2 separate regions of the Homo sapiens genome follow, and region 1 is linked to region 2. Evidence: promoter capture Hi-C in 16 types of primary human blood cells and fetal thymus (Javierre and others, 2016). All regions are on one chromosome and are shown on one strand. The core of a region is centred on a gene start or on the middle of the fragment in contact, and the rest is flanking DNA. Distances in the headings are between cores, read along the strand shown. Region 1 overlaps MTOR (mechanistic target of rapamycin kinase). Region 2 holds the start of MTOR-AS1 (MTOR antisense RNA 1).

Region 1 (3,214 bases), core at 455-2,954, 76 kb before region 2:
ATTTTCAATTTTTAGAAATTTCCTTGAGTTTACAAAAAATTTAGGCTGAGCGTGGTGGCTCACATCTGTAACCCCAACACTTTGGGAGGCCGAGGCAGGTGGATCACTCAAAGTCAGGAGTTTGAGACCAGCCTGGCCAACATGACGAAACCCCGTCTCTACTAAAAATACAAAGATTAGCCGGGCATGGTGGTGCATGCCTGTAGTCTCAGCTACTCAGGAGACTGAGGCAGGAGAATTTCTTGAACCCGGGAGACAGAGGTTGCAGTGAGCCAAGATTGGACCACTGCACTTCAGCCTGGGCGACAGAGGAAGACTCCATCTCCAAAAAAAAAAAAATTAACTTTTGTTTTAGTTATATAAGACATTAACATAGTTCCAGAGCTAGAACTATAAATAAAATCTTATCTAGCAACGTCTAGCTTCTGTCACCATCTTTATACCTCGTTTTCTTCCTTCCTTTATTATTTCCTATTGCTGCTATAACAGATTACCACAAATTTAGTGGCTTAACACAGATTTCTTATCTTACAGCTCTCTAGGTTATATTTCTGACATGAGGTCTCACTGGGCTAAAATCAAGATGTTGACAGGACTGTGTTCCCATCTGGAAGCTCTAGGGGAGAATTGTTTTCCTTGCTTTTTCTAGCTTCTAGAGCACGAGGAGTTGGACAAGCTTGTTTTAGAGGGTGCCTGCGTTCCTAGGCCCCCTTCCTCCATCTTATTAAACATTATTGTCGTTTTATGTCGTGTTTGTTTATATTCATCCACACATATTTCATGTCTCATCACCCTGTCTTCCATATTAGAGCTTTCTCCTAGAATCATATTCTTTCTTCATAGGACAAATTCCTCTTAGGAGCATTCATTGAAATAAACTGCTCTTATCTGAATAAGTCTTTATTTCACCCTCTTTTTAAATCTTCATTTGGAGATTTAAAAATTAAATTAAAAAATTTATTTTTTTAGCCAAGAATATTATTCTAGGTTCTCCTACAACTGTAGATACGATCCCACTTTCTGACTTCTTTTTGTTGCCGTTGAGAAATCGTGAATCCCTTTTACATATTTTTTCTGTGGCTTTACTTCTCATTGTTTTGTTATCCTGAAGTGTTTACTATTATATATCTAGATGTGAATTTCTTTTGATTATCCTGTTTGAGACTTGGAGGGCTTCCTGAATGTGAGGATTGGTATCTTATCAGTTCCTGAGAAATTCTCATCTATTATCTTTTTTGGAATTTTGTCCTTATACCCTTCTATTTTTTTTTTCTTTCTTTTCTTTTCTTTTCTTTTTTTTTTTTTTGAGATCAAGTCTCACTCTGCTGCCAGGCCGGAATGCAGTGGTACGATCTCGGTTAACTGCAACCTCCACCTTCCATGTTCGAGTGATCCTCATGCCTCAGCCTCCTGAGTAGCTGGAACTACAGGCGTGCACCACCATGCTGGCTAATTTTTTTTGTTTTTTGCATTTTCAATAGAGACAGGGTTTTACCATGTTGCCCAGGCTGGTCTTGAACTCCTGTCCTCAAGCAATCCACCCGCCTCAGCCTTCCAAAGTGCTGGAATTATAGGCATGAGCCACCGTGCCCAGCCTTATTCCCACTTTTTTTAAGGCATTTTAAACAGACTAAATTTTCTGTCGAATACTTCTATTATATATAAAACTCTTAGTGGGTCTGATTGTGTATATTGTTTCTGAGAAGTCATGCTTGTAGTGGTCTGTTTCCTCACGTGTTTTATAATTTCGAATCATATAGCATATTCAACTGGGCTTTCCCTGGAGCAATACTAGAAAATCTGCTCTAAATTTGCATCTTTCCAGAGAGGATGTGCATTTACTTCTGCCAGGTGGTCCATGAGAACTTTAATTTCTTGGCTTAGAGATTCCCAGGCCACACAGTTAGTGAAAATAAATCCCTAAACCTGTACAATAGATGCCTGAAATTATGAACTCTTAGGGGAGGCATTTTTCTGCCTAGACCCCACATCACAACTGGCAAATTTCTTTATCTCCTTTTACCAGTGGACAGATTTTTTTTTTTTAACTCACCATTTCTCTTAATATGTAGCTCTTTGAAAGTCTGGCTTTATGTGAGAGGCTTTAGTTCTTTTTTTTTTTTTGAAACAGGGTCTCACTTTGTTGCCCAGGCTGGAGCGCAGTGACATGATCTCAGCTCACTGTAACCTCACCTCTGAGGCTGAAGTGATCCTCCCACCTCAACCTTCCAAGTAACTGGGACTACAGACACATGCCACTATGCCCAGCTAATATATTTTTTTGTACTTCTGGTAGAGACAAGGTTTTGCCATGTTGCTCAGGCTGGTCTTAAACTTCTGAGCTCGGGGTGATCTGCCTACCTTGGCCTCCCAAAGTGCTGGGATTACAGGCGTGAGCCACTGCGCCTGGCCACTTCAGTTCTAATAATCTTATAATCATGTTTATATTTTTGTACTTAATTTTAGGCTTTTCATAGTGGGGGAGTTTGGAAGGAGATCTAGTGCATCATATTTTCAGGAGCAAAACTGTGTTCTTTTAAAATACTCATGTTCCGAGCAAAAAGAGAACACATGTGAAAGGCTAAGGAAGAAGAGGCAGCTCCTCTAGCTCTCTACTCAGCATTGAGGTGCTTGCCTGTCCATGTCCCTTGGGCAGCTACTCCTTATGAATAAGCCACGGAAATGCTCCCTAATCATGCCTAATAAAATGGCACCAAGGACCAGGAAGCTTGTTTCCTCTTTCTGTCTCTCAGTTTTCTCTGACCTCCCCGCCATCGCTGTAGGCCTGTTTTCCTCCAGCTTAGGTTTTCTACTTTCTTTCAGGCTTTGCATAATAAAAATTTGCCTGAAGAACCTTTATATTTAGTCTCATTTTCCTTGATCTTTGTAATAACATTTTTTTTTTTTTGAGATGGAGTCTCGCCCTGTCGCCCAGGTTGGAGTACAATGGTGTGACCTTAGCTCACTGCAACCTCCGCCTTCCGGTTTCAAGCAATTCTCCTGCCTCAGCCTCCCGAGTAGCTGGGATTACAGGCACATGCCACCATGCCCAGCTAAATTTTGTATTTTTAGTAGAGATGGGGTTTCACCATGTTGGCCAGGCTGATCTCAAACTCTTGACCTTGTGATCTGCCCGCCTCAGCCTCCCAAAGTGCTGGGATTACAGGCGTGAACCACCGCGCCCGGCCTGTAATAACATATTTGTATAGGGACC
Region 2 (2,879 bases), core at 174-2,673:
CACATTCCCATGCCCTTGCCACCTAAGATTTTGTGTGTTACCTTAGATAGATGTTAAAGTTTTGGATGCCATACATTTCTGTCTTCGATGAGAAATTGGATAATACCTCCTCTCAAGCCATTCAGTTCTGGGAAAATGCCCTTCTTCAGCGAATTTCTCTTTTCATCCCTGGAATTTAAGTGAGACAGATAACTTCTGTAGCTAGTTGGGGTGCCCTAAAATAACCCTAAGCTCCCAAGTCCAGAGCTCAGTCCCAAGGGTTGTTTCTCTTCTAGTGCATTGACAAGGCCAGGGACCTGCTGGATGCTGAATTAACTGCGATGGCAGGAGAGAGTTACAGTCGGGCATATGGGGTAAGTGTCAACTATTCTGCACATTGTCATTTTTGAGGCTTATTTCCATACTTTTTTCAGAATGGGCTATTGAGAACTTACAGGCTGCTGGAAACATGCCTGTTTTCTCTGATCGGCAGATACCCTGACACCAGAAGGAATGATTTAAATTAATCCTGTCTTTTGGATTGTTCGTGCAGTAATTAGTTTGGAATGCGATTTGCTTCCATCAGGCCATGGTTTCTTGCCACATGCTGTCCGAGCTGGAGGAGGTTATCCAGTACAAACTTGTCCCCGAGCGACGAGAGATCATCCGCCAGATCTGGTGGGAGAGACTGCAGGTGAGCTTGGTAGAAAGCCCCAGTTCACCCACCTACCCCTACCCCTTCCAGGACCTGGGTGAGTGCCCCCCTCCACCCTGGCTCTTACTCAACTTGCTTTTCCTGCCTCCTCCACCAGTGTATTGCTTGGCTTGCATACAAAGCAGAATACTCAAAGGCTCCTCACCTAAACTTAAGCTGTGAGAGAATGACCAATTTTCCAGTCTCTTCTTATTCTCTTCTCTAGGAATTAAAAAAAATGTTTTTTAGTAAGTGACACCTGTGACCAGTCAGTTAGGAATCATAACCTCAAAATCAGTGGTTCTCAACCTTAGCAGCACAGTAGAATCACCTGCAGAGCTTTTTAAAATCCTGATGCCCAGGCTATTCCCCAGGCCAATTAAATTTCTGGGGAGAGACTCAGGATCAGTATCTTTTCAGGTTCCCCCAGATGATTCCACCAGCCAAAGCTAAGAACCACTGCTCTAACTACACTTGGAGGCCACCTGCACCAGCTTTTCAGATGGGGTTGCCTTAGGTTCTCATTGGCCAACTCCTGCTATTTATAGCTACTTAGGTCAGAGTCATCCTGTCGCCTCTATTGAGACTTTTTTTCCACTGCAGTTTCCGCTTGTAGAGAAGAAGCTTTCCCAAGTCCTCCATCAGTGTTTTCATTCTCACATTCTGATCATTTTAACATGAGAAACTGTCACTCCAGGTCTGGGAGTCAGGAGTCTAAATGTTCTGGGAAGGATGGCCAGTTATCCCATTCCTTGAGTGGGTAGGATAGGAAGTTCATCAGCAAAAGAAAAAAGAGAGAAAGCCTTTACCACTCCAGAAACCATTTGTCTCCCTACCTATCATAATCCATCCCCGCAATTATAAACCATTTCCTCTCAACTAGATCCCCACCTAATTGCTAATTCCAAATTCTCGCTTCAGACCAATCGAAGTTTGTGCTTCCAGGCGTCTCAGTAGGCTGCGACAAAACCTTTTGACTCCAAACACATTCCTGCCTAGGAAGCTCAGGGCACATTCCCCTGGACAGGAAAGAGCAATGGGCAAAGGAACATCTATGAATACAGTCATTTATGGCTCTGAAATGAGCACATACAGTTCTTTTACATGTTTTATTAGTAATTATGAAATGCCCAGTGAATGTTTTGATGGAAAATTGTCTCCTGGGCACCAGAAAGAATTCCACAAATAAGCATTTCCCACTTGATTTGTACACACCCCAATTCTTTGAAATGCCTATAATAAAGAGTTTCTACAGCAGAGATCTGATGAACCTTCTGACAGTCTGACAAGTGGGACTTGATCCAAATGTAGACTTAGAGGAGAGGGGAGGCATGGAATGAGTCCTGGGAAGAGAGATGCCTGTCTGACTTTACTGGGTCCAGGACACTGCCACCACCTTAAGCCTTCGTGACTTTCCTATCTTGAGGCAGCAAGATGCTTTTTGGCTTACAGGAGGCCAAATTATTTCAGCATCTGGGAGAACCTAACTATTGGTGAGAAGTCACAAAAAACAATCACTCAGTGTACTTTTTTCTGTTATTTTAACTTTCGAAATCATTGTTGTCACACTTCATGGGATGGAAAAATGTGGTCCAAGGCCTGAAAGTAAAGCATTACATTTATAGTGGAAATTTGGCTCTTGTGGATGGCTTGCTGTCAAATGAACTGCTGGGGCTAGAAAACTGCCATTTTGTGGTCAAATCATTTAAATTAAAATCCCCAACCAGTATTATAGTAGTGGAAAAATACATGTTTGTTACTTTTCTTTGGAGTTGCACCAATGCTTTTGGTTCCTAAGACCCTCCCATAGGGCAGTTAGAGAGGTCAGCCTTACTGGCGCTGGGTCTCTTCTAGCCTTGGGTTCTCCAGTCAGGCTCAGACTGCATCTTATCATAGCTAAAAGCCTGAGATCATTGTCGCTAGACTTTTAAGTTTATCTCCATGGAGGACAGCTCCATGGGTTCATGGAATTTACCATGAAGCAGTAGATCTCAGGAACTCCCCTTCTGAGTCTGACTTCTTATCAACAAGGATGAAAAAGGAGTTCACTTGGCCAGGCATGGTGGCTCACACCTGTAATCCCAGCACTTTGGGAGGCTGAGGCAGGTGGATTGCTTGAGGTCAGGAGTTTGAGACTTAGCCTGGCCAACATAGAGAAACCCCCTCTCTGCTAAAAGAAAAAAATACAAAAATTAGCCAGGCGTGG

What was found. Contacts are between HindIII fragments. The CHiCAGO score rates a contact against its expected background, and 5 or more counts as called.
Region 1: a fragment that was not itself captured here is called in contact with the fragment with the promoter of MTOR-AS1 in region 2 in 1 of 17 cell types (endothelial precursors); the score reaches 5.1 in endothelial precursors.

The regions. Positions count from the first base shown.
Region 1 is chr1:11,218,124-11,221,337 of GRCh38, reverse strand. All of the region lies in intron 19 of MTOR (mechanistic target of rapamycin kinase), which reads left to right. Among named protein-coding and RNA genes, the nearest start is that of ANGPTL7, 30 kb to the right of the region's middle. The HindIII fragment of the contact is 2,052 bases long and covers 679-2,730 here.
Region 2 is chr1:11,142,442-11,145,320 of GRCh38, reverse strand. It overlaps MTOR-AS1 (MTOR antisense RNA 1), which reads right to left and starts at 1,423. Exons shown (of 4, transcript NR_046600.1): 1 at 1,334-1,423; 2 at 435-654; 3 at 42-168. MTOR (mechanistic target of rapamycin kinase) reads left to right here. Exons shown (of 58, transcript NM_004958.4): 33 at 276-353; 34 at 566-673. The HindIII fragment of the contact is 11,786 bases long and covers 1,300-2,879 here.